7 separate regions of the Homo sapiens genome follow, and all the other regions are linked to region 3. Evidence: promoter capture Hi-C in 16 types of primary human blood cells and fetal thymus (Javierre and others, 2016). All regions are on one chromosome and are shown on one strand. The core of a region is centred on a gene start or on the middle of the fragment in contact, and the rest is flanking DNA. Distances in the headings are between cores, read along the strand shown. Region 1 overlaps ROR1 (receptor tyrosine kinase like orphan receptor 1). Region 2 has its middle 4.7 kb from the start of UBE2U. Region 3 holds the start of ROR1 (receptor tyrosine kinase like orphan receptor 1). Region 4 overlaps ROR1 (receptor tyrosine kinase like orphan receptor 1). Region 5 overlaps UBE2U (ubiquitin conjugating enzyme E2 U). Region 6 overlaps ROR1 (receptor tyrosine kinase like orphan receptor 1). Region 7 overlaps UBE2U (ubiquitin conjugating enzyme E2 U).

What was found. Contacts are between HindIII fragments. The CHiCAGO score rates a contact against its expected background, and 5 or more counts as called.
Region 1: a fragment that was not itself captured here is called in contact with the fragment with the promoter of ROR1 in region 3 in 3 of 17 cell types (endothelial precursors, erythroblasts and M0 macrophages); the score reaches 7.8 in endothelial precursors.
Region 2: a contact is called between a fragment that was not itself captured here and the fragment with the promoter of ROR1 in region 3, in 1 of 17 cell types (M0 macrophages). The highest score is 5.5, in M0 macrophages.
Region 4: a contact is called between a fragment that was not itself captured here and the fragment with the promoter of ROR1 in region 3, in 8 of 17 cell types (endothelial precursors, megakaryocytes, M0 macrophages and 5 more). The highest score is 14.5, in endothelial precursors.
Region 5: a fragment that was not itself captured here is called in contact with the fragment with the promoter of ROR1 in region 3 in 6 of 17 cell types (endothelial precursors, M1 macrophages, megakaryocytes and 3 more); the score reaches 10.1 in endothelial precursors.
Region 6: a contact is called between a fragment that was not itself captured here and the fragment with the promoter of ROR1 in region 3, in 1 of 17 cell types (endothelial precursors). The highest score is 5.1, in endothelial precursors.
Region 7: a fragment that was not itself captured here is called in contact with the fragment with the promoter of ROR1 in region 3 in 3 of 17 cell types (M2 macrophages, M1 macrophages and megakaryocytes); the score reaches 6.8 in M2 macrophages.

The regions. Positions count from the first base shown.
Region 1 is chr1:64,153,089-64,157,253 of GRCh38, forward strand. The region is part of intron 7 of ROR1 (receptor tyrosine kinase like orphan receptor 1); the gene reads left to right. Among named protein-coding and RNA genes, the nearest start is that of ROR1-AS1, 43 kb to the left of the region's middle. RefSeq lists an enhancer at 2,093-2,643. The HindIII fragment of the contact is 949 bases long and covers 1,488-2,436 here.
Region 2 is chr1:64,197,102-64,200,801 of GRCh38, forward strand. No RefSeq gene overlaps it. Among named protein-coding and RNA genes, the nearest start is that of UBE2U, 4.7 kb to the right of the region's middle. The HindIII fragment of the contact is 1,292 bases long and covers 1,014-2,305 here.
Region 3 is chr1:63,771,996-63,775,787 of GRCh38, forward strand. ROR1 (receptor tyrosine kinase like orphan receptor 1) reads left to right here and starts at 2,022. Exons shown (of 9, transcript NM_005012.4): 1 at 2,022-2,513. The coding sequence starts at 2,423. RefSeq lists silencers at 2,089-2,138, 2,923-3,217 and an enhancer at 3,083-3,646. The HindIII fragment of the contact is 6,004 bases long and covers 1-3,792 here.
Region 4 is chr1:64,132,114-64,136,323 of GRCh38, forward strand. All of the region lies in intron 4 of ROR1 (receptor tyrosine kinase like orphan receptor 1), which reads left to right. Among named protein-coding and RNA genes, the nearest start is that of ROR1-AS1, 22 kb to the left of the region's middle. The HindIII fragment of the contact is 720 bases long and covers 1,890-2,609 here.
Region 5 is chr1:64,231,581-64,235,530 of GRCh38, forward strand. UBE2U (ubiquitin conjugating enzyme E2 U) reads left to right here. Exons shown (of 10, transcript NM_001366232.2): 7 at 981-1,069. Among named protein-coding and RNA genes, the nearest start is that of UBE2U, 30 kb to the left of the region's middle. The HindIII fragment of the contact is 993 bases long and covers 1,961-2,953 here.
Region 6 is chr1:64,179,424-64,183,160 of GRCh38, forward strand. It overlaps ROR1 (receptor tyrosine kinase like orphan receptor 1), which reads left to right. Exons shown (of 9, transcript NM_005012.4): 9 at 1-2,075. Among named protein-coding and RNA genes, the nearest start is that of UBE2U, 22 kb to the right of the region's middle. The HindIII fragment of the contact is 1,024 bases long and covers 1,273-2,296 here.
Region 7 is chr1:64,248,838-64,252,762 of GRCh38, forward strand. The region is part of intron 8 of UBE2U (ubiquitin conjugating enzyme E2 U); the gene reads left to right. Among named protein-coding and RNA genes, the nearest start is that of UBE2U, 47 kb to the left of the region's middle. The HindIII fragment of the contact is 9,203 bases long and covers 1-3,925 here.

The DNA of each region.
Region 1 (4,165 bases), core at 712-3,211, 380 kb after region 3:
GGCCCGATTAAAAAGTGGGCAAAGGACTTGAATAGACATTCCTCCAAAGAAGATATACAAATGGCCAAAAGCATATGAAAAGATGTTCAATATCACTAATAATTAGAGAAATGCAAATCAAAACTCCAGTGAGATACCATTTCACACCCATTAGAATGCACTATTAAAAAAATAGCAAGTGTGAAGAAATTGGAACCATTGTGATCTGTTGATAGGAATGTAAAATGGTGCAGCTGCTATGGAAAACAGAATGGAAGTTCCTAAAAAAAATTAAAAATAGAATTACCATCTGATGCAGCAATCCCATTTCTGAGTATTTAATCCAAAAGAATTGAAGTCGGGGTCTCAAAATATTTGTACACCCATGTTCACTGCAGCATTATTCATGATAGCCGTTTAAGGCAGAAGCAACCCAAATGTCCATCAGTGGATGAATGGATAAAGAAAACATGGTATATGCAAACAATGGAATATTATTCAGTCATAAAAAGAAGGAAATCCTGTCACATGGTACAGCATCATGAACCTAGAGGACATTAGACTAAGTAAAATACACCAGTCACAGAAAGATAGATACTGAATGATCCACTTATATGCAGTACCTAAAATAGTCAAAATCAGAAACAGAAAGTACCATGGTGGTTGTCAGGGCTGGGGGAAGGGGGGAAATGGGGAGTTATTCAATGGGCATAGAGTTTTAGTTTTGCAGCATGAAAAAGTTCTGGAGATTGGTTGCACAACAAGAATAAATATATGTAACATTATTGAAATGTAAAATTAAAAATGGTTAAGATGGTAAATTTTACGGTATTTTTTACAATTAAACATTTTTTAATTATTAAAAAAGATTAGCCCAATTCTTTTATAGAGGAGGAAACTGAGGCCCTGAGAGTTTACAGAAACTTTTAGTGAACTTGTGTGGATTCCAGTTACTAAGATTTTTCCCAAATGCTCACAAATGAGTTGCTCTCCCTAACTTATTGTAGTTAAAACCTTTTCTGCAGGGAAAATTTTAATCAATGTATATGGCCTATTCAGCATTTTTTTTTAAAGAATTCATTTGAGAATACATAAGGCAATAGATCATCTACTTAGTATTTCCATCATCAAGTCAAGAGAGTGAATGCCTGGGCCCAGCCTGCCAACTGAAGGCCTAATTACCTCTCTCTCTCGCCTTCCAGGCATATGCCTAAATCACTGGTGCAGGCCCCTATGTGCTACCAACCTGCTTATTTTATAGTTTTCAAGTAATAAATTGGTAGTGATTCCTGTTTGTTTTCTATGGTTTTTAAATTTTTTTCAGTCAAGGTTATAATTTAAACTTGTTTAATTTCCCTTGAATTCTAAGGTTCTGTAAGATTTCTTCCCACCTTTGCCATATTTAAAACCAGAGCCTTTTCTTGTTTTAACTCAAAGTAATATCCCAGATGATGTTTCACTTTATTAAAAGTACCTCTTTAATAAGAAATCATGATTACTTTGCTTTAAGCTTCAGGGAAAGAAAGGAGTATTTTCTCCATTATATTTAATTACTAATCAAAGTATTGAATATCATTGTAAAAATAAAATAGGAATGTCAGATGTGAACTGTGATACCAAATTGTTTGATTTTTAAAAGGAAATTAATCATGTGATCTGGACTAAGTGGTTGGTTTCAAAAATCTCAAGTATTTAACTTGATGTAACTAATATGTGCATTTCACTTTTAAACAGTTATTCCAAAGTATTAAAAATCTTCAACATTCTAATTTCCAGCCGATTTTCTCTGTAATGCATTGGAGGTGTCCATTACCCTTTAAAATGACTAGTAAGAATAATGTCCATTGTTCCAAAGTGATTTTCTTAAAATAGTATGATTCCCACCAGATATTAGTCTTCATTGAAAGAGAACTTCGGACTCTTAAGGAGAATGATGAAAAACAATTATATATATAATGTTTTAGGGTAATTTTGATTAGTAATATAATTTACTAGAAGCACTGAAGGTAGACAGGCTTGCATTCCAACCCAGACTTTGCTACTTTGTAGCTTTGACAAGTTATTTTTCCTTTCTCGGTCTTAATTTCTCTGTGTGTAAAGTCAAGATAACACCAATGTGCCTTCCGGGTTAAAATGAGGAATACAAATGCTCGGACTTCAAAAAGAACCTAGGCAGATATTAGTTTTCTAATTTTTCATTTGGAAGGCTCATTGTTCTATGGAATATTTTTATAGAAGATTTTCAGAGCCAGCAGAGACTGAATCCCCTTCTGGCCAAATGCAGAGAGCTGTGTAGGGAAGGAAGCACTTTGTATGGAAGACTTACAATGGGCCTGAATGTGTTTCTGTCACTTCCAACATGACCATGTATTGTTCTCCTTGATTATTTCACTTGGCAAAAAGACACTGGGCCCCTTGTGCTTGTTAGCATATCCTCAGTGTAATCAGAAGGAGCCAAGCTTGACTGTTTAAAGGATTCAGCTTCTTGAAGTTTGTTCTCCTGCAGACCTACAGGGGGATTTGTCCCAGACCCTCGTTTACAATAGAAGACCTTCCATGAATAATCTGATAGGGCATGAATACAGAATAGACTCCTTTGTTTGCCAGGCAGGTGAGGCCCTACTTTCTCTTGTTGCTAAAAATCTGGCCTGGAAAAATGACTAGCATTGCGTTAGTACTAAATTAGCCTCATCGCTTTTGTAATCATTACCCTCAAAATGATTTCACTGAAAAACCAAGAATAACAACAGAGACTTTACCCCCCTAGGGTACTGAGAAATATGAAAATGGTTTATAATGTTAATAATAACCATAACATCCAACAACTGTATGGCAATTTTCAATTATCCAAGGTTCTTTCATGAACATTATCTCATTTGATTCTCAGGTGAACCAAATAAGATTGGTAGAGCAGGGACTATTATTCCTGCTCTACCAATCGTATTTATTCCATTGAATAAATGAGGAAATGGAGATCAGAGAGATTGTTTCTTGCTTAAGATTATCTAGCCCAAAACTTTTACCTGTGAATCCCCCTCTAGTCTAAGGGTAAAGGGTAAACATTGAGTGGTAACTGGTACTAGAATAGATTTGTTGCTTACAGCAATTCTGTGAAGTAGGTATTACTCCCATTTTACAGATGAGTTTGCTTGGAGTGGCAAAGGGCCTACTGAAGGTCACGTAGATAATGAAAAGGCATTATTCAGAGGTTTCTGACTTGGTGCCCTGTGGCAGACCGTCTTCTACTCAGGTGATTCCTTTCTGTCTATCTATAGGCATGTAGACACAATCATTACTGGTGCAACCAGCACTGACTACGACGGCCTCCAGTGATGCCTGGGTTATATATTTACCTGTAACAGTGTATAAAGCAGGGATTTTCTGTAATCCCAGCACTTTGGGAGGCCGAGGCAGGCGGATCACGAGGTCAAGAGATCGAGACCATCCTGGCCAACATGGTGAAACCCTGTCTCTACTAAAAATACAAAAATTAGCTGGGCGTGGTGGCACGTGCCTGTAGTCCCAGCTACTCAGGGGGCTGAGGCAGGTGAATCGCTTGAACCCGGGAGGCGGACGTTGCAGTGAGCCGAGATCGCACCATTGCACTCCAGCCTGGTGACAGAGCGAGACTCCGTCTCAAAAAAAAAAAAAAAAAAAAAGCAGGGATTTCAAAAGCATCACATTTGGCAAAACTTCAGTGTTATTCCCTTCCTTTCAGATCACCCTCATCCTTCCTACCTCCATGAAACAAGAGGAACCCTACTATGAGAAAATAGGGGCAAAATTCTCCAATTATTGGCAGTGAAGTGTAGTAGCTAGAATGGTGGGCAAAAAGCAAGACCGACGATGGAATCCCAGCTTTTGACTTACTAGCAGCATGTCCTTGGGCAACTTACTTAACCACTCTGTCTTCCAGCATCTTCACCTATAAAAATTAGGATAAGGATGTCATCTACCTTATAGAGTTGGTTGTGACATAAAATGAGTTTATGAAAAGCACCTGGTCCATAGTAATAATAGCTAACATGATTTTGCACCAGTAGAAAATATTTGATAAATATTAAAATTGCGTTTTGTTTTGTTTTTTTGAGACAAGGTCTCACTCTGTCACCCAGGCTGGAGTGCAGTGGCGCAATCACAGCTCACTGCAGCCTCAACCTTCTGGGCTCAGGTAATCCTTCCGCCT
Region 2 (3,700 bases), core at 410-2,909, 420 kb after region 3:
AAATCATCCAGTGTCTCTGTGCCTTGGTTTTCCTCATCTGTAAATTAGAATCTTAAGAGTACCTACTGTACAGAGTTATTAGTGAGGATGAAATTAATTCCCATAGAGCACTTAGAACAGCATGCTCAGCACACGGAAAGTGCAGGTGTTGGCTATTACTTACTCTATGCCAGGTGTGACTGAGTCATTGGCAGGGATTATATCTTTTAATCCTCATAATGATCCTGCAAAGTAAGTATTACTATTGGCCGCAAATTACAGGTGAGAACATTGTAGGCACAGGGAAGCTAAGTAACTTCTTCAAGACTATCTTTACGGGTTAATAAGACACAGAACAGAACCCAGGTCTGCCTTGAAGGCACATTCTATTTATCAACAGACTTACTAATAAATTAACGCAGTGGAAGAACTGAAGATGGGGATTTATTTTCCCAGTTGAGTTGGTTTGTCTAACTCACAACCAAACACAACAAAGCTGATGAACAAGGCAGAGAAAGACAACGCTCAGGAGTGAGAAGTGACAAGAAGATTATGACAGCAATAATATCATGTATGTGAAAAGTTTACTAAAACTGACATTTGTTGTAATAAATGGAAGGTGATCCCATGCAGAGAAAATATTTTCAGATGGGCCTCTCCTTATAAATTTCCAATTTTGAGTGACTCAGATGGCTGAACAGCTGATGCTATTAGTTTTCAGCTCCTGCTGCTATAATATTAATTGTAGGAGGCAAACCTATCCAGTTGCTACACAGATGCTAGATGCTAGGTACACACACACACACACACACACACACACACACGCACACATGCACACACGCACACATGCATGCACAGGATAAGATATGCTATGACTGCGCCAAGGCACTCCAGCCTAAGCAACAGAGGAAAACTCTCTAAAAAACAAAAAGATAGAAAAAATACAAGATGCTGGCCAGCCAGTGAGTATATCTGTGATCTTGTTTAGTTAGCATCTCCAAACACAACAGTACCAAACCCTCACATTGGCAGGAAGCTTTTTATTTCTCAAAAAATTCATTCCCAAAATATTTCTGGAAACCTTAACCTGTTTGTCTCCTCAGCCCCTCCGGGTGTGGGACCTTTATAAGTGTCTTTCCCTTCCTTTTTGGCGTCCTGGGGATTTTGCTTATAAAAGGTGCCTTGGCTGAAGCTCTGCAGCCCCTTCTGCTCTGGTGGCTCTTGCTCTCAGGGGTGCTTCTGATTCATTGTCTACTCTGTCACTGTCCTTCAGACTTTAGCCTCCTATGTGTCATGGAGCTGGCTGAGCTTCTCTACATCACCCAGCTTTTCACATCTCTGCAACCCTCTTCCTTTGCTTATGCCTAGTTCTTTCATGGAAGGTCACTCTCCTGGCCCCAAAACTTTCTATTCTGCTAAGTTCAATTCAATCAGAATATACTGATACCACCTCTGAGCCAGGTGCTTGGTGCTGGGAATGCAGCGATGAATAAACAGGTCTCCATGGCCTTAAGAAATTATATTCTAGTGAGTGAGAAAACCCCATAAACAAATAGTTTCAAAATAATGTGGTGATAATATACAAAGGTGAACCCAGGTCAAATGAGAACACAACCCATTCTGGCAGTTCAGGATGGCTCCAAGGAGGCATTTATCTCTTTCAGGATGTGCTAACAGTTTTTAATTAGATTTAAAAAGAGGAAGAAAGGTCAGGGAGAAAAGATGATGAGCCTAGGCAAGATGGGTACATACAGGAAAAAGATAATGCAGTTTAATGGAGCGGGTACCTCAAGTATGAAGCAGAGTGAGTGTCAATAAAAGTAGGCATAAATAGGAAAATATTATGGAATGCTCTGCTTTCCATGTTAAGAAACTTAGATTTAATTCTGTAGTGTGTGGTTTATCAAGTAAAAAAAAAAAGTTCATTTGCATACACATACAAATGTAGAGACGGACACATATAAAGTTGCCTGTGATTTCAGCCATCCCACCTACATCCCTGGAAGTAAATCCACATGTTGAAGATGGGATACGTTGGGATGAAGGGGAATCCCTCAAAGTATTTTAAGTAGAGAATTTCATGATCACATGTTAGTTTAAATACATTACTATCACGTTTCATGACAAGCAAGTCTGGAGTCAGGGAGTACAATACAAAGATGTTCTGTATCTAGGCAAGAGATGACAAGGTTATGAAATTGAGCATTATTGGTAAGGCTTGAGAAGAAGCTAAGACAACAGCATGTCTTGTGAGTCATGAGGAAGAGGAGGAGTCATGAGGACGAGGAGGAGTCAGAGATGACTTCAAATTTCCAACTGGGACAGAAGCTTGGTTGAGAGAAACAGTAATGAGTTGATTTTTGGACATTTGAGTTTGAAATGTGTTTGGGACAAGACAGCTGGGTGACAACCAGGCATTTGGATATAAATTAGTAGGTATACTAGTCAGAAGTCCCAAGAAGAGGTCAAAGCTAGTAATATAGGTTTGTTGTGGGGGGAGTCATATGAATATCTTCCAACTTGATTTTCATTGTGCTAAAGTATCATATAAATGCCATCTTCTAAAAATTCACAACAAAAAATGTTTTTCTTTACCTTAATTTTCTTTTACCTTACTTACTTTTATCTTTCTTTTACTTTAACAAAATTTTCCCTAGAATGAAATTCTAAACAAAAGATGGAGGATTCTTATTGTATGACATGATGACTACAGTTAATAAAAATATGTTGTATCTTTGAAAATAGATAAGAATAGATTTTAGGTTTCCTCAACATATGAGGTAATGCTTATGTTAATTAGCTCAATTTAGCCGTTCCATAACATATACATATTTCAAAATATCATGTTTTCCATGATAAATAAATAAATATATTTTTTAAATACAAAAGATTCTGAATTCATTATCACAATAATCCATTAGGGTGGGAGAAAGGATTGTGGGACCACAGTGATATGGACAAACCTAGTTACGATCTCCAAATTGGGCCTATTCCCTTCTCACTGAAGTAGCCCTTTACTCACTTTCACCTGATATTTCCAATCCTATGCAAGCCCATGTTGAAATCTGATGGGCTGGAAAGAAGGGCCAAAATATTCAATCCCAGATCCTGTTGATGTTTTCACAGGAAAAAAATCCTTTCTATTTAGTTTTAGGAAACATAGAATAATAGCATTTTATTGTGTCAGCATTTTAGTACAGTGAATATGTTGTTGGTGATTTCTAAGCTACCATACCTGGAGGTGAAATTTACTGTGGGATCCTTCCAAGTGGTCCCCCCCAACAATTCATTCTTCGTAGAGCAGCCAGAGTAATCAAGTAAATATAAATCAGAGCATGCTCTCCCTCTCCCTCTCCCTCTCCCTCTCCCTCTCCCTCTCCCTCTCCCTCTCCCTCTCTCCACGGTCTCCTTCCACGGTCTCCCTCTGATGCCAAGCCAAAGCTGGACTGTACTGCTGCCATCTCGGCTCACTGCAACCTCCCTGCCTGATTCTCCTGCCTCAGCCTGCCGAGTGCCTGCGATTGCAGGCGCGCGCCGCCACGCCTGACTGGTTTTCGTATTTTTTTGGTGGAGACGGGGTTTCGCTGTGTTGGCCGGGCTGGTCTCCAGCTCCTAACCGCGAGTGATCCGCCAGCCTCGGCCTCCCGAGGTGCCGGGATTGCAGACGGAGTCTCGTTCACTCAGTGCTCAATGGTGCCCAGGCTGGAGTGCAGTGGCGTGA
Region 3 (3,792 bases), core at 772-3,271:
GGTGGGTGGATGAGAAAGGCTCCTTGTCTGACAACTGTGTGTATTGACTGTAGACAACAGAGGACTGCCCAGCACTGTGCAGTGTAACTGAGTATCCTCTGATTTCTGGGCTGTGATATACTAAGACTGACCATCAAAGACTGTTTCCCAACAAGAGAACCTTGTGCAGTAAGTTCCTCAGGCAAGAAGCGAGATAATTGGGACAGGATTGAATAGATCTCAGGCAGAGAAACTTGGGGGACAGATCAATGTAGGTAATGAACTGGTTGACCCAAGGCCTCTCTGTCTATCATTTTTTGACCTCAGGTCAGAGCGATAGAAAGGGGGAAAACTACCGACACAGCTCCTGCCATGAAGTCCTGGAGAAGAATAAGTGACTGTTTGTCCCGCATGGGTTAGTCATTCACCTGCCTGAAGGCAAAGGGCTGGGAGTCTGGAGTCCATGACCTGCTGGGACATACTTTGGGCTGCATTTTTTCCCCCTTCTAATGTCTCAGCTCTCAGGGATCTGCTTTTCCTGGTGCCAAGGAGTATGGATGAAATTTTGTCCCTCCTCCATGCACCCCTATAAAACAAATATGATGAGAAATTAATATTTTCCAAATGGTGACCTAACCTTTGTTCATTAATTGAGCTCCTATTGCATTCCAGGTACTGTTAGAGGCCAGCAAGATACCTAGATGATTGAGACAGAGTCCTCGCCCTCCATGAAGTGACTGTTCATTTTAAAACCCTAAAGCTGGGTTCTTAGAGGCTACTGCAACAGCAACAACTCCCGAGTGAGTGCTTATCATGTGCCAGGCTCTGGTTACAGGCTTTAACTCTCTCAGTGGAAACAGCCTGAGTGCTGGCTTGGCTACCCCATGTCTGTGAGACTGTGGGCAAGTCATTTACTTTCCCTTTGAGTTTCAATTTCTAAAACTGTAATATGGGGATAATATATGTAAAACAGCTAAGAAGTATATACTTTTAATGACTCTTTTTAGTGTCAATGGAGGATTTGTGAGCAAATGCATATAAAACACAAGGCAAACAGGAGGTATTTAGTAAGTGGCCACGTGATTATTGAGAGACTATGGGCTTCTTCCTGTTCCTCCAGAGCAAGACTGACAGGTGTCCTATTACCCTTGCATCTTCAGAGCCTAGAGCACAGCCCTGAAAACAGCAGGCGCTCACCACTTTTTATGATCAAAGGCAGTCTCTACAGGGAAAGTCAAATCATTATGGGTATTTATGAATTACAAAATCCATAAAGTTAAACCAGGAGAAATGGACAAAAACACACTCATTGTAGAGGTCTTTAATGATCCCTTGGCTCATGGCAGAGCAGCTAGACAAAAAACAAACAAACAAACAAACATGCAAAGATTCAGAAGGCCTGAAAAAATAATGAATACAAAGAAGATAAATCGATACAGTATTCTATCTTCACATTCGGAAGACAAAAACACCTTTCAAAAAACCATGGGACATTGGCAAAAATAACCACAGATAATCCTCAATAAATCTTGCCAGGAGGCAGTACAGATGACATTGAATTCAGTGAGACTACAAATTAAAGACAAAAAGGCGAAGTATAAATTACTTGTGTAAGAACTCTCTCAACTCTTGGGTCCAAGAAGAAAGCAAAAGGGAAATTGTATGATAGCAATAAATGTGCCATTACCCAGAGTCACACAGCTAACAGTGACACAGCTGAGGCTGCTAGAACCTGGGTCTACTGTCGTCCAGCCACGAACTGGCTTGAGATCCCGGATAAGTCTCTCTGAGCCTCGGTTTCCCCTTCTGTCAAGTAGCCTCGAAGGTCCCCGGCGCTCGGTTCGGTGGCGAGTTTGAGGAGTGTGGGGGAGGGGAGGGGAGGGAGCGTGCCCGAGACGCGGGAGCCGCGACCGCTTTCTGCGAAGTCGGGGAGGGTGCGGGCGTTGAGAGGCTGCAGCAGAGGGCGCTGGGTCGCCAGCCTGGGCCGCGTCTCCCATTGGTCGGGGCTGGGGCGCTGGGCTGGAGAGTTGGTGGAAAGTGACAAGTTGAGCGAGAGAGGGAGCGTGGAGAGCTGGAGCAGCCGCCACCGCCGCCGCCGAGGGAGCCCCGGGACGGCAGCCCCTGGGCGCAGGGTGCGCTGTTCTCGGAGTCCGACCCAGGGCGACTCACGCCCACTGGTGCGACCCGGACAGCCTGGGACTGACCCGCCGGCCCAGGCGAGGCTGCAGCCAGAGGGCTGGGAAGGGATCGCGCTCGCGGCATCCAGAGGCGGCCAGGCGGAGGCGAGGGAGCAGGTTAGAGGGACAAAGAGCTTTGCAGACGTCCCCGGCGTCCTGCGAGCGCCAGCGGCCGGGACGAGGCGGCCGGGAGCCCGGGAAGAGCCCGTGGATGTTCTGCGCGCGGCCTGGGAGCCGCCGCCGCCGCCGCCTCAGCGAGAGGAGGAATGCACCGGCCGCGCCGCCGCGGGACGCGCCCGCCGCTCCTGGCGCTGCTGGCCGCGCTGCTGCTGGCCGCACGCGGGGCTGCTGCCCAAGGTAAGAGGCGCCCGCCGGCCCCCGCCCGCCCAGACCCCCTGACCCGTGGCCACCCTTCCGCCGTCCAGCCGGGCGCGGGACACGCAGGAAGCGCCGCGCTGGCTCCGGGGCGCGTCCGGCCACCCGCCACGGGGCTCGCCGGCGCCGCCAGGCCAGGGTTTGCCCCGGAGCCCCGCCAGGCCAGGGTTTGCCCCGGAGCCCCGCGGCGGGCCGGGGCGCGCCCAGGGACTCGTTCCTCGGTGCGCAGCAGCGATTGTCAGCGCTGACAGGAAGCGTGGAGGGGTTTGAGGGTCCTGGGGGTGATCGGGGCACTTCTGTGCAGGGCGTCCCCCCTTGTCTCCCTGGACCTCTAGCGCGCCCCAGCCGGTGTTCAGGCAAGTCTATCCTGCCCCCAAGTTGCGAGCCGGCCCGGAAGGCGCGGTCCAGGAGGGAGTTTGGATTTTCAGTGGTGCTCGCCAGAGCCCAGGCGGCTCGCGGATCGACGCAAACAAAAGCCCTGTCCTCCTGGGGCTCCGGCGGCCTCGCATCGCCACCGCCCCCGGCCCTCCGGCCCTCCCGAGAGTCATCATAGAGGCCAAAACTTGTGCGCCGCTGCAGCCGCTGCCACTTTGTGCAAAATGTGCTGTCAGAGGCGGCCTGCGGCTCCAAAGTGCTTTGGGTGTGCACGCGCGCGCGCGCGCGTGTGTGTGTGCGTGTTACAAACAAGAGGGGGAAAAGCCATCTAATGCATATTTGATTTTGGTAATCTCTAAAGACAATCGCAACAGTTAGAGAAAGACTTCACCGCAAGCCGGAGCGTCTTAGTTCGCTGCGGGAAGCTGGGGTCCTTGCTGCGTCTGAGCCGGTACACAATGAGAGGGAAGAGCCCGGCTGAGCCTGTGGAGACAACCGATTCATTCTTTGGAGGTTGGAGGGGGAAAGTTGATTAAAGTCTCCGGGGTCTCGGGCCTCACTTTTAACATGCATCCCTTGAGGGGGTGAGGAGCCTTTGGATTCTGCCCTCCCCCACTCCCAGCCCTAAACCTGAGCGGATAAATAGATCTCTGCTCTTTTATCATGCATCTTTCATTTTTAAGTTAGCACTGTGTTTAGGAAAAGAAAAAGTTCTGCGCTACTTAGCAGTTGAGAGGAAAAAGATGTATTCACTACATAGACTACGAATGCAGAATTAGTTTTTACTAAAAGTTAGCTGACTTTCTTGGTAGAAAACACACTCTGGAAGGAAGTTGTGTGAAATTTTGATTTCTTAGAGATGGTTTTTGGAAGCTAGAGTAGCATT
Region 4 (4,210 bases), core at 1,000-3,499, 360 kb after region 3:
TTACCTATTTTAAATATTTCATATAAATGGGATCATACAATATGTGCCCTTTTTGTTCAGCTTATTTCACTTAGCATGTTTTTGAGGCTCTCCCACATCGTAACCTGTTTCAGTACCTCATTCATTTTTCATGGCTGAATAATATAGTCTATTGTATGTATCTACCACCTTTTGTCTATCCATTCATCTGTTGATGAACACCTGAGTTGTTCCCACCTTTGGACTATTGTGAATAGTGCTGCTCTGCACATTTGTGTACAAGTGTGTGTTTGAGTACCTGTTTTCAATTCTTTGGTTTAAGTGAGATTTTACAGTCAGGAAAGTCCCTCTGCATCCATTCTCTTCTCATTAAGAAGAGGTAGGAGACCCGGCGTGGTGGCTCACACCTGTAATCCTAGCACTTTGGGAAGCCAAGGCAGGTGGATCATCTGAGGTCAGGAGTTCAAGACCAGCCTGGCCAACATGGTGAAACCCTGTCTCTACTAAAAATACAAAAATTAGCCAGGCATGGTAGCACACGCCTCTAATCCCAGCTACTCAGGAGGCTGAGGAAGGAGAATCGCTTGAACCCAGGAGGTGGAGGTTTCAGTGAGCTGAGATCGCGCCACTGCACTCCAGCCTGCGCAATGGGAGCGAGACTCCATCTCAAAAAAAAAAAAAAAAAAAAAAAAGAGAGAGAGATAGGCATTTTAACTGAAATTATCCCCAAAAAGAATATTTTAGGACCAAATTTGTCAGTACCGATCGGTTCAGCTATGTCTGCCCATGCCCTGTATATTCTGATGAGGAAGAAAATCGCTTCCAATTAGAGGATACTCCTGGTATGGAGAAGGGTCCACTTTGGTGGGCTACCCTGGGATAGTCTCCTCATCTCTTCTAGTTCTATTGGCCTGTCAGTGGTAAGGTGGGCGCTAAACAGATAAAATAGTATATGAAACTGGAAATCTGTGGAATGGTTTGATGAAAGTACTGGGAATGGGTGGGGTTAGTGAGTGACTAACTTTCCAGGGAAGGTAGGGGCATTTGGGTCTGAAAGATGAGAACATTCACAAGGAGAACGAGGGGGTGGAGGGCATGCCAGCCCTAAGGATGAGCATGGGTCAAGCCATGTCCGCATCGAAGTGCATCCTGTGGTTTGAGACTAGCAAGATCATCCACATGACTAATACCATCAGGCTTGTAGGCTTGTCTGGCAGGGAAGGAAGCTGGAAAAACTGGCAAGAACTAGATTATGAAGTCTCTGCAGAACAGCATTTCCTTTCCTTGCTCTGCAGTGGTTCCTAGATGGGCACTCCTTTTGCTGCCGCACTGTTCCACGATCCCTCTTAGCACTCTTCAAATATCCTTCATAAGCTCCTTGCCCTGGAGAAGGAGGAGACCCTGGAGGTGGATTACAGACCACATTTGCGTTTCCCAATCCCATGGCAGAGAATATGGCAGGTTGTAGAGGCTGGCAACATGGTAACTCAATTACCTTTATGAGAAACATGAGCTCCCATCACAAAGCACCCCTGCACCTTGACATCATGGTGAGGCAGCGGCGCACGCTGGTGCCAGCCACTGTGATGAATGGCCAAATTCCATTTGCCCTTTCACAATGCACTTTTCTTCTCCATTGAATGCAGCCTTGGGCACGCTCACTGCAAGTGCCCTTGCACTTTTGCTACCTTGCCACTTGCTTCATGTTTTTAATTTGCTGAGCATGGAGTAAGGCAGGAAGACATCAATGATGAAAGAAGTGTGAGCTGGAAAAAAGCATAAAGCTGATTAATGCTGGAGGAGCATTTGTTCCCCTCCAGCCAAAGCCAGTGGGGAAAAATGGAAAAGAAAGAAATGTGTTTTTGACTTTATGTTTAAAAGAAAACCTTTTACCACCCAGAATGCACCAAAGCTTCTCCACAGCAGAAAGCCCCTCTAAGCAGTGCAAAAACTCCATTGCCAAGCCACTTGGAAAGAAGTTATAGAGTGTGGTTAGAAACACTATTTAGAGCAAATCTAGCTCTTCTACTTGCTGCGTAACTTTGGATAAGTTCTCTATGCTTTCTGAGTCTCACTTTTCTCATCTGTAGAACAGGAATAATTACATCTTTACCTTTTTTTATAAGATTGTTGTTGGGATAAAATGACTTAGTATCTGTTTTGTAAGTATATAAAACTTAGCAGTATCTGATACAGAATCAAGACTCGTTATAAGGTCTCTTTCTCGAGTAGGCTGATTTAACTAAGAGTAGTATTGAAACGCAGAACATAGTTACAGATCTAACAACATGGGATAGTGGCCTCATCTTGAGTTTCAGTTTAAATCCTAGCTCCACCACAGACTGACTTTGTGAATTTGAGCAAGTTACTTAACTTCTCTGAATTTGAGTTTCTCTCTCGTAAAATAAGGATAATAGCTCATCAGGGGCTGCTTTGAAGAAAGCACCTAACACAGTACCCAGCCCAGAGCAGCAGACACTTAATACATGTTTGGTTTTTTTCAGTGTTGTGGTTCTCAACCACATTCAAATCACCTGATAGGTTTCTTTAAGCATAGATACCTAAGCCTCATCCCCAGAGACTATGATTTAATAGGTCTAAGGTGGGGCCTGGGCATTCGTATTTCCTAAAGCTTCTCAAGGAGATTCTTTCATTCTTTTTTTTTTTTTTTTTTGAGATGGAGTCTCACTCTGTCACCCAGGCTGGAGTGAAGTGGCATGATCTTGGCTCACTGCAACCTCCACCTCCTGGGTTCAAGTGATTCTCCTACCTCAGCCCCCTGACTAGCTGGGATTACAGGCACCTGCCACCACACCCAACTAATTTTTGTATTTTTAGTAGAGATGGGGTTTCACCATGTTGACTAGGCTGGTCTTGAACTCCTGACCTCAGATGATCCACCCGTCTCGGCCTCCCAGTGTGCTGCCAAGGCGATTCTCATAAGGAGCCAAGACAGAACCACTCCCCAGCAGATAACAGTACATACTGGTTTTGGGGTTTTTTTGTGTTCTTTTTTAAAAAATCTGTCTCCCAGGAGACTGAACAGGATAGTAGGAATTCTGGGAATAGTCAAAAATTTAATACACCTGCAGTTCTAAGCCTTTGATAAGAAATGTGCAGCCAAGGAATTGCATTCCATTTTATTCTGAAAAAAAGTATTCAAAGAGTCTTTTTAAGAGTCTTGAACTGGAAAGGTGGTAAGAAGTTTAGCCTAAGCCTCACACATAAAATATGGGAACTCCCAGTAGGTTGGGGATTTATATCTGGGGGTAATTCCAGGGTTTTGTCCTCCCAAGAGATATAAATTGAAGCCTTGAGAGTTTAATGTGGGGGAGAAAGAAGTGTTCTCATAATGACACCTTAAAAATCCAGGGCTCTGCTAATGCCTAGGGATAGAAAAGCATCATCTGTAATAGCAGGGGGGTGGCATGGGGGTGTATTCTGGTCTCTGTACTTAGGTTTCCAAGATCCAAGTGTGGGTCATCAAGAACCTTCTTTCTCCCCATAGGTTTATGGTATTAGTTACCCAATAAAAGTTGGGTTAATTTTACAACCCAAGTAAAATTTAAGCCAAAAAGGCTTCAGCATTACTCTAGGATTTATGAAAGTAAACATGTGGAGTGCTTGCAGGATTGTGCAACAGTAAAATTTCAATGTCTTTATGTCAGGTATATGATATATTCATTTGTATGTGTATTTAAAGGTTAAGTTTTTAAGAGCTTTGCAACACAAACTATTTTCAGTACTAAACTGAAGATACTTCCCCCACTTTCACCTTTAAAATGATTCTTTTAATGAATGGGAGTAGAGAGAAGCAGAAAATTAGTGTCCTATCAGGTGATTTTTCCACTTGGTTTGCTCCTATACTTTGACTTTCTAGACTCCTACGCTAGACCTTCAAGCTGGGAAGTGAGCACCACAGCACTAACCGCAGTGCCTCTTACGATGTGGGAGCTTAGTAAATAACTGTCTTTTAAATAAATGTCCCTTTGGTCATTGTAAATACTTTAAGAATAGCCATATATTATCTCTACAATTTAAAAAAGCTTTTACATTATCTGATGGGATCATAATGACTTTCCCATGTAGGGCAGAGAAGTCAGTTACTGTGTCCAACTTGTAGATGAGAAAATTGTGGCTCAGAGGGCTCAGACAGCTTGCCTAAGGATGCCCAAATGTTAAACTCAGGAAGAGAATTTTGTTCTCCTGACTTTGCTCTGAGGGATTTTTA
Region 5 (3,950 bases), core at 1,207-3,706, 460 kb after region 3:
ATGTTAGTCTTAGGTGTGCATAATTGTTATTTAAATAAATGAATGAATTAACACATTTAGATAATGCCTCATTAATTTAAAAGTTGAGTCAAATACTTAATTTAAGGTACCTATGATTTACCTTTAAAAACTAATGCTAATATACTTGTTCTGACTGAAAACTTGCTTCTTCTTCTAAAGAGCTAAGAACTTCAATTGGAAAACAGGCATAAGGCATATTGCACTGGATGTCTAAGCAGCTGTTTAAGCCAGTTAATTAGTGATTTCACATGTCTGAAAAAATATGCTTAAGTAATGTTTTGTTTATAGAGTGTTGAGAATCTCTGCAAGTTTGTGGAAAAATGCCTGGAAATGCAGTTATTTAAGGGACTGCTTTATAGTTTTCATTTAACACCTTATAACAATCTTTGCTCTCCATTAGGACATACTAATATTAGCACAGGGAGGGGAAAGTAGCACCCAGGAGTATTAGAAAAGAGCTGTTTTTCCCCTCTTTGAAAATAGCCAGATTCTCTGTAAAAACTAAACTAATCTCAATTCTAATACTTGTATTCTGTCCCCATTATAAGAAATAAGGGTTTTTTACTAGAATTTGGCATTGAAGTTCAAGAAAAATGTTTATTGTTTCTTATAGAATGAGAAATTGACAGGTATAACGCTTTGCTTAGAGTTCTTTTTTAATGTTAGTCATGAAAGGCAGATGTCTTAAACCTGTATTTTTCTTTTTATAATATACATGTGGGTCCATATTTACATTTATCATTGAAATATGATTTGAACATTTTCTTTTTCGTTATTTGTATTCATTATTGGTGGAATCAGTATATTGGATACAATTGTTAAAAATGCATGTTACAATTTGCAAGTCAGTTTAATATCTTGTGACAAGATATTATGTGAACAGTCCATATAGCAGTACAATAATTTTAAAAAGAAAATTTACAAACTGCCCATCGTCTGATTTTTATTTATATTTTCAGACCAATTAAAACAACCTCATTTAGTGATTACTACCAGACATGGTCCAGAATAGCTACATCAAAAGCCACAGAATACTACAGAACTCCATGTAAGGTGAACTATCCTTATCCTATGTCCTTTTGGTATATGTTAATCTGTTAACATTTATCTTGGTTTCAAAGACTAATTGACACACATCTGCTATGTAAGAGTGATAAACTTCTCTGTAGGCTCTATATACTATTCATTCAACAACTATTACTTTAGTTCTTTTTTTCAAAAAAAAATAATTTTAACTTTTTGTCTTGGAGACAGAGTCTAACTCTGTCATCCAGGCTGGAGTGCAGTGGCACAATAATAGCTAACTGCAGCCTCAAACTCCTGAACTCAAGCGATCTTCCTGCTTCAGCCTCCTGAGTAGCTAGGATTATAGGCAAAAGCCACTATGCATGGCTAATTTTTTATTTTTACTTTTTTTTTTTTTCGAGATGGAGTCTGGCTCTGTTGCCCAGGCTGGAGTGCAGTGACGCAATCTCAGCTCACTACAAGCTCCGCCTCCCAGGTTCACGCCATTCTCCTGCCTCAGCCTCTCGAGTAGCTGGGACTACAGGTGTCTGCCACCACGCCCAGCTAATTTTTTGTATTTTTAATAGAGACGGGGTTTCAGTGTGTTAGCCAGGATGGTCTTGATCTCCTGACCTCGTGATCCGCCTGCCTCAGCCTCCCAAAGTGCTGGGATTACAGGCGTGAGCCACCACACCCGGCCTTATTTTTACTTTTTAGAGATGGGGTCTCACTATGTTGTCCAGGCTGGTTTGGAACTCCTGGCCTAAAGCAATCCTCCCGCCTCAGCCTCTCAAAGAAGAATACAAAGTTCTTTTGTATAGAGCCCTGGACTGAAGTCTGATTAAAAGCCAGAAAGAAAGATAGTCAATTGGAGGAATAACAGAAAAGTTCCCAATCTTATGAGGTTTACTTTACTTCCTTTACCCCAGAGAAAAGCTTTCACACCAGAGAGAACCTTTTTATTTCTCCTCTAAGCCACAAGAAATATTAGGTAGAAATTCAACAAGAAAACATAAGAACATAGGGCTGTTCAATTATATCAATCTAAAAGGAAAAATCATCTGTTACCATCATACATCAGGAGCTAAAAAGACAGATTGAGAGAGCTGGACAACTTTCCGGTTCCATTTAACTGGATCTTTAGAGTACTATTTCATTATCTGGATGAAAGTAGGTTGTCCAGTCTGCATACACTTACTGAAATACGACTTTGCTTCAGCCATCCTTCTAAAATGGTGCATTCTGCAGTAGCAGAGACTTCTGAATTCCCAGATGCAGTGATTACGTTTTAGTCCTCTTCTTACTTGCACTCCCATTAGCTGTGCTCTCCTTGATTTACATGATACCATACATCCATGGCTTTTCATCTCCCTTCCTAAGCACACTGCTGCCTCTTCCCTTGGCAATATCTTCTTCATTCAGTCCTCTCTACTTACTCTCTCTGAAAGACCTCTTCCACTACCATGGTTTTCATTTGCTTACAGTCCAGCGATTCCTAAAGCTGCATCTCTAGCCAGATCCCTCTTCTGAATTTTCCATGCATATTTATAACTGTGCAGGGGACATCTCACCTATGTGTATTATAGGCATCTCATATTCAAGATATCTCAAAGTGAATTCATCATCTTGCCCCCAAATCTATCTTTCTTCCTTTATTCCCTCTCTTGGTTAGTGGTAGATCACTAATTTTACATTTTCTTACCAAAGCCAGAATCTTAGATGTTTCCTACATCTCTTTATCTCTCTCATTAAGCCTTGTTGATTTTTATCTGCTGCAACATTATGAATGCTTCCACTCTACTACACCCCCATGACCATTGCCTTAATTTGAAGTCTCTTTATATTTCATCTCATCATTATGATAGTTTCCTATAGTGAAAAATAGTATCAAGTTTTAAGGTACAAATGAGGGCAAAAAATAGTACTAAGCTTAATAAATATCCTTAAAAGGTAAATTAGATCAATAACTTTTAAGAAATCACATGTTCTTTCAGGAGGTTGGCTATTAATTATTTTGTGATTATATATCACCATCCTCACTCATAGGTCAAAACAATTTAAGGTACATCAAGATATACAATCTTTAGCAGCTCTATCAGTATAAAATATTGATTATTTTTGATACCAGAGTACCTGAATGGTTAATTCAGGTCAAAGATTTGTTGTTGAGTGCTGCCTAGTCAATTCAGCAAACACATCTGCTGTGTGTACCTACTATGTATGAGGCACTGAGCAGCTCATATAGGCTGCAGGGGCAATAACCCTTAATTACACAAACACTGTGTTGAGAGACATTAATTGGCACACTCTAGGGAACCACTCAGAGTCAAACTCCTTCCACCAAAAAACAGATTGTTACAGGAGGGTGCTTTCTAGAATAACATGTAAATATATAGGGCCACTTGGAAACTCCAAACTGCTAGAGGAAAAAAAAATAGAAGCATGTGCCAAAACTTAAGGAGATTTGGGAATAATTGTCTTGCAATAAAGAATAATTAAAAAATGGAAGGAAATAATAAGGCACCACTGACCACAGTTTCTTCTTCAAAAAGAGTTTGGCCCCAAAATGTTTAATTTTGTTGTTTCTACATCTTTCACTAACCTAGTATGTGATTCATCCCTGTTTGTAAAGGTAATAACTGGCCATTGTTATCTCTAGCCCAGATGAATTTCTGAGACTTTGAATCTAGCACTTGGTGCATGATTTCACAATCACCCTGCCTCTTCTTCTTCTAGGGAATTGTTATAAGAATGTTTCAAGAGTTTCCTTGAATAATAACCAGCACTTAATTTAAAAAAATTAAATGTAAACTTTACATGTGCTGCTGGCCATTTTATCTTTTGATAGTTCAGCTGGATGAGATCCAACACTATCTTTTTTTAATGGCCTAATTTCCTGGCAATAATAAAGATGAAGCTTTTAG
Region 6 (3,737 bases), core at 535-3,034, 410 kb after region 3:
TAACAAGCCCTGAAGCCTTTTATGTCGTTGTGCTTCTTTGGGAAGGTGTAGAGTGTGCCTTTTTGTGAATCCTCCTCTGATCATGAGGGTCTTTCCCACAGTTTCTCACAGTGTGTTTACACTGCCCTTGGAATAACACAGCGCATCAGACCATAAGAAGGCTAGATGTGGATGCTAGAATTGATTGTTGGTTGATAGTTCTCTTTGCTGGATTAGGAATGAGGCGCCAAAGGAAGCACAGCCAGGAAAATGGCCCCACAGCCTAGATCAGCATCTGTGGGAAAGGAAAAAGGGTTCCCATGGGGACAGCCCCCATAGGAGTTTTCTGGAACCAGTAACACTGAAAAATAAGTGTGTGGCTACAGATGAGCACGCCCACCCCTTGCAACTCCCTGTTTACAAGTTGTCCGAGGCATTGGAGTGCTTATGGTCAATGGGCTCTAGGGAAGTAGGAAACTCCATCATGATACAAATGTCTAGTAATTTTAAAGTTTCTTTCCCTTTTTTTCTGTGCTGGAAATGTTCACAGATTTGATTCCCGCCCCAAGAATTACAACAATGTATTCATACAGTCAGTTGGAATCCAAAGGCAATTAATTCTATTTTGCAAAATATGATGGTCTTCCTAAAAAACAAGTACTGAGTTCTCATTTCAAAAGTTACCAAGAACTGAATTCTTTAAACTAGCAAACCGAAGTAACATGACCATTTTTGCCTTAGTGGGAGGTTTCAAATGTGCAGCTCATGGCATTTACCTGCCGACCATCTTTTGCCAAGTTTAGAATTCTTATGCGTTTCAAGTTCTATATAGAAAGTAATTTTACTTTTGATTTTTCTCTTGTTAAAAAAAAACTCCTTTATTCTAAGAACAATGTCTCAAAGTCTCATTTTTACTTTAAAGGTATAAGAGACTTCTAAAGAGACTTACGGGATATAAAAGTAATTCCTGGAAATGATATTTGATGAGGAGAATGTAAGAGAATGAAAAACACATTGATGTTTTCATTTTTAAAAAATACAACTAGCATGAGAAATCAAGAAAATATGTTTACCAAAATGCATTGCAATTTTCCCAAACCTGAGTCTTCAAATAACAAACATGAACTTATAGGTACTGTGAACTAGAAGAATTGGTTATATCCAGATTTCTGGGAGATAAATTAAAACATATTTTTGTGGCATAAATAAGCTGATTCAGAAGTTACATTTCTTAACTTTAGGTAGAGGAGAATATTTGTATCCTTTTGTTGCTATGCAACTGTTTAATGATGAAGCTTCAAACCACAATTTTGTATATCATATGACAATCAATTGTTTTCCAAGAATATTTATTATTTTAAGTACACAATTTCAGTGAATCTTGAGTTTTTCTAGGAGTCCCTTAAAGGGAAATTAGCATTCCATGAGCCAGTAAAATACCTACTCTGGTAAAACATTATTATGGTTAAAAAGTAAATTCAAGTTAGTTTTTTATAAAGAACTATAACATTTATTTTAAACATTTTATAATAACTGAAAACATTAAAGTGAGCAAATGAAATTTCAAAACCACTTGTAATAATGTATTTTATAATCGCACTGTGATACTATATAACACAGTCTCTTTTGTATTAAAATAGTATTTTTTTCACAAGCTGAAAAATATCTTTTCCTTTGTTGACAATGTTTTGTAAGATGACTTTATTTTCAGATCTTTTTCTCCTTTTTTGCACAAAACTATGCTTATGGTTTGTGTCACAGAAGTGAAAATATATCTTTGCATTTTTATATCTGGTCTGTTTTTCTTGTTTCCTTTGTTTTTAACTTGATATAGATTTTCTTCAAATATATAATGGCAATTTTCAGATATCTCACCTTACCATATCTTTCCTTATTTTCACTGCATGCATTTAATCACTGTATTACTTAATGTTTGATTTGTTATTATGGGCATTTCAAATAGGCAAGCATTGAATTGTAATGACAAAAAGGCTATTTTATATTAAGGATATATGCATTTGTATTTCACACACCAGAGATGATATTAAACACTGATTATTTTATGCTGCTGTTTATTAAAAATGTTTACTATAAAATATTATTTCCTGAATATTGCTGTCATAGAGGTATTTGGGGATTTTAACATTTACATTTTATAGAAAGAGGAATCACAATTCCTATTTGCTGTTATTTCATTAAATTTTTTTTTTTCAGTAGGCTTTTAAAACAGACTTGGGCATTATTTTGCTAGCAACCATAGGTGGAGAGGGGAATCCTAATGATTTCATAACTGAATACTATCCACCTATATATGGCAAGCTTTGAATTTTTAAAATCAAAATAATATATTGAATAGTTACAACCAATGGAATATAAAAAATATTTGATTTTAAGAATATAGTTGCATCATTTTCTGCCTTAATATTTCCATATAATCTTAGATATCAAAAGTCACCTCTTTGGACTCTAAAGAAGAAGAGGCTGTGTACATCTTATCATGCCCAACTTAGCTTCCAAACATACTGATAAAATAAATGGGGCCATTTAATTGTCACAACTTATCTTTATGACCTTATTTGCCCAAAAGAAAGAGTTCCTCATCTGGCAATTAATACACATGGTCAAGGAAAATGAGTACCATAATGAAAGTTCAAAGAAGTTGTCCATATCTGCTATTTAACACAGAAAGGAATACAATAAAACCTTTAGGGCCTTATCCATCTGTTTTAGGTACAGCTCTTGTCACCACCTCAACAATCAAACTCAATAAAGCAATCCCTTCACATGGCAGTGAGATCCGTGTCAGGCTGGGTTTCTCCCTCTCACTTGAATTCCTCAGCCTGCCTTTTACCCCCATTTCCTTCTTTTATCTCCCAGCTCTTGACCCTCCTGCCATCCCCAATCCCTTCAACTCTGAGATTCCCTTAATTCCCTAATCACCAACATCTGCAAACTCCTAGCATCACCTTCCCATAATGCCTACTACAATACTGAATAAAGAGGAGCTCTTTTATCCACACATCTTCTAAGATGATTACCTATCCCAGTACTTCTCAAAGTGTGGTTCCCAGAGCAAAGAAACAGCGGCACCCTGGAACTGGTTAGAAATGCAAATTATCAAGCCCTACTTTGAAGTACTAAATCAAGGGATCCACGGGAGATGCTAGGGGTGAAGTTCATCCTCTTAATTTAGACAGCATTTTTTTTTTTTCAGCTAATAGCTCAAATGCTAAAGAGGAAATCCTGGGGATGAGACCCAGAAATTTGTGTTTTAGCAAGCCTCACATGATTCTGATATACTCTAAAGATCAAGAACTGACTTAATTTAAAGGCACGGGGGTGGGTGATCATTACATTCTTTTGTTTGTTTGTTTGTTTGTTTGAGATGGAGTCTCACTCTGTCACCCAGGCTGGAGTCCACTGGCGCCATCTCAGCTCACTGCAAGCTCAGCCTCCCGGGTTCACGCCATTCTCCTGCCTCAGCCTCCCGAGTAGCTGGGACTATAGGCACTCACCACCGCGCCCGGCTAATTTTTTATATTTTTAGTAGAGATGGGGTTTCACCGTGTTAGCCATGATGGTCTCGATCTCCTGACCTTGTGATCTGCCCGCCTCAGCCTCCCAAAGTGCTGGGATTACAGGCATGAGACACCGCGCCAGGCCGATCATTACATTCTTAGTAATGTGCACGTAAGCATTTAATAACATTTTAGCCCCTTTATTCCCCTTTAAAGAAAATCAAGTTTTACTGTAAAATT
Region 7 (3,925 bases), core at 1,201-3,700, 480 kb after region 3:
ACACAAGCCTCACAAAGAGCTGGAAATCCTGCCAGCTAGAGTGGAGAGACACTATAATTTAACAGACATTGACTAAAATTTAGAAGAGCTGTGCTTTATAGTGGGGCCATATTAGGTATCAAACTGATTTTCACAAAAAACTGAACTGTGAGCCAGAATGAAGAACAATCAGATTTAAAGAAACATAACAAAATTTAGCACCTAATAACCTAAAATTTACAATGTCCAGCAACCCATTGAAAAATCACCAGTCAGCCAGGCGCGGTGGCTCACGCCTGTTAGTTATCCCAGCACTTTGGGAGGACAAGGCGGACAGATCACCTGAGGTCAGGAGTTTGAAACCAGCCTGGCCAACATGGCAAAACCCTGTCTCTATTAAAAATACAAAAAATTAGCCAGGCGCAGTGGTGGGCACCTGTAATCCTAGCTACTCAGGAGGCTGAAGCAGGAGAATCGCTTGAACCTGGGAGGCGGAGGTTGCAGTGAGCCGAGATCATGCCATTGCACTCCAGCCTGGGTGACAGAGTGAGACTCTGTCTCAAAAAAAAAAAAAAAAAAAAATCACCAGTCATACAAATAAGCAGAAAAATATGACCCACAACCAAAAGAAATTACATCAATACAAATAGATCCATAAGTGATAGAGAGGATAGAATTAACAGATACAGACTTTAAAGCAGCTACTATACATCTTATAAAATATACTGAATTATCTAAAGAAAAACATGAATATGATGAAAGAAATGGAAGATATACCAGTGGAATATCTAGAGATAAAAATAAATCAAATATTTAAAAATATATATACTTAATGGGAAGAACAGCAAGTTAGACACTGCAGAAGAAATGACCCATGAACTTGAAAGTGTAGCAATATAATCTCTTTAAAAAAAGATAGAAAAAAAGACTGAAAAGAAACGAAAGAGCCTCAGTGAGCTGTGGGACAATATCAAGTGGTAGAAGATACATATAAATGGTGTTCCAGAGGAAGGGAGAGAAAAAATATTTGAAGAAATAATTATGACTGAAAATTTTCCCAATTTGATGAAGTCTGCAAATTCACAGACCAAGAAGTTCAATGAATCCCAAGAAACAGAAATATAAAGAAGCCATACCAAAGCACATCATAATCAAATTGTTGAAACTCAGAAATGAAGAGAAAAATCTTAAAAGTAGCAAAGGAGAAAAAGAAACCCCACATGTTACACATAAAGGAGCAACGATAAGAATAGCCAAAAACTTCATGTCAGAAGCCTTGCAAGTCAAAATATAATAAATGACAACTTCAGAGTGCTTGAAAGAAATTATTAAACATAGAATTTTATAACCAGTGAAAAGCTCTCTCTAAAATGAAGGTAAAATAAAAACGTTTTTTGACCAATAAATCCAACCACATAGTTGAAATGAACACATTTCTTGAAAGGCAACATCTACCAAGCCTCACTTAAAAAGAAATGAACAACCTGAGTAATCCTGTATCTAATAAAGGAATTTATAGTTAAAAGCCTTCACACAAAGACAACTTTAAACCCAGATGGCTTCACTGGAGAATTTTCCCACACATTTAAGGAAAACATGAATATACACAAACTCAGAAAAAAGAAGGAAACACTTCCCAGCACGTTACAGGGTCAGCATTACCTCAATAACAAAACCAAAGACAGTATACGAAAACTACAAATCAAGAACTGGAAATACCATTTGGCCCAGCCATCCCATTACCGGGTATATACCCAAAGGATTATAAATCATGCTGCTATAAAGACACATGCACACATATGTTTAGTGTGGCACTATTCACAATAGCCAAGACTTGGAACCAAGCCAAATGTCCAACAATGATAGACTGGATTAAGAAAATGTGGCACATATACACCATGGAATACTATGCAGCCATAAAAAATGATGAGTTCATGTCCTTTGTAGGGACATGGATGAAGCTGGAAACCATCATTCTCAGCAAACTATTGCAAGGACAAAAAACCAAACACCATATGTTCTCACTCATAGGTGGGAATTGAACAATGAGAACACATGGACACAGGAAGGGGAACATCACACACCAAGGCCTGTCGTGGGGTGGGGGGAGGGGGGAGGTATAGCATTAGGAGATACACCTAATGTTAAATGACGAGTTAATGGGTGCAGCACACCAACATGGCACATGTATACATATGTAACCAACCTGCAGGTTGTGCACATGTACCCTAAAACTTAAAGTATAATAAAAAATAAATAAATCAATAAATAGGGAATCCTTCCCCGCCCCCCCAAAAAAAGAAAACTACAGATAAATATGCCTCACAGACACAGATGCAAAAATTTTAGTATATTTAATCTAAATATATATATAACATATATAATATAGTTTTAAAATGTGTTAGTTTTTTTGAATGTTAAATCAAGGTTACATTCCTGATATAAACTATACTTGGTCAGGATTAATTATGATAAATAATTGTAAATAATTATGATAATTCATCATGACTATATGGAGTTTATACTAGAAATGTAACATTGGTTTAACATTTGAAAATTTCGAATAATGTAAATTAGTATAAGAAAGAAGAACTATATGATCCTCTCAATAGATGAAAAGAAATTCTGTATCCATTTCTGATTTAAAAAAGAGAAAACTCAGAACAGGGAGTGAATTTGGCATGTTCAAGTGAAGTATCCAGGTTCTCACATTGGGACTGACTAGGCAATCAGTTCAACCCATGGAGAGCAAAGAAAAGCAGGGTGAGGTGAGAGCCCACCCAGGAGCAGCATGACGCCAACAAAATCCCCACCCCAAGACAAGGGAGGCAGTGAGTGAGTGTGTGACCCTGCCCAGGAAACCATGCTTCTCCCACGGATCTTTGCAACTCGTGGATCAGGAGATCCCCTCATGAGCCCCTGCTACCAGGGCCTTGGGTCCAATATACAGAGCTGTGTGTAATCTTAGCAGAGACTCAGGTGTTTTACATAATCTGGTCCTAAAATCCTCCAGTGAGGCACCAGATCCACCCATACATTCCCCTAGGAAGGGGGCTGAATCCAGAGAGCCAAGCAGCACCATCCTGAGGGTCCCACTTTCACAGCACCTCACAAGTTGGGGCCCGCTAGCTTGGAGCTCCAGCCAACCAGCAGCAATAGGCTGAGTCTGCTTAAGACAGAAGGGAGTTCCTGGGGGAAAATGTGGTCACCATTTCTGCAGTTCTGTTGACTCAGCATTCCAGCCTGCCAGCTCTGGAGAGTCCAGGCATTCCAGACGAGGAGGGGTCTCCCCACCAACACAACACACCTGCTTTGCCAGACTGTGCCCAGACTGCTTCTTTAAGCGAGATCCCAGTCCATTCCTTTTCACTACCTCCTGTAGGGGGCCTTCAGTCACTCTAGCCAGGCTTATATGGACAGAACTCTGATCTCACCCTGGGATGGAGCTCCTGAGGGGAGGGGTGGCCACCATCTCTGTGGTTCAGTTGACTCAGTTGTTCCAGCCTGCTGGCTCTGGAGAGGCCAGGTGGTCTGGACGAGGAAGGGTCCCCCTCAATGCAGCACATCTTCTCTACTAAAAAGCAGCCAGATGGCTTCTATAAGTGGGTCCTTGATCCTGTTCCTCCTGACTGGGAGAGACCTTCCAATAGGGGTCTCCAGTCACCTCCTACAGGAGTGTTTGGGACAGCAATAGGTCAGTATCCCTCTAGGATGGAGCTTCCAGAGAAAGGAACAGGCTGCCATCTTTGCTGTTTTGCAGCCCGCACTGGTGATACTTCCAAGTACAGGAAAAGCAGAGGCAACTAGGTTCTGGAGTGGACCCCCAGCAAACCATAGCAGCCCTACATTTGCTAACAGTCAGTGGCCTACCTGTTAAAAGAAAAACAAACAAACAGAAAACAACAACAACAACAAAGACCCCACAAAAACCTCATTCAAAGGTCAG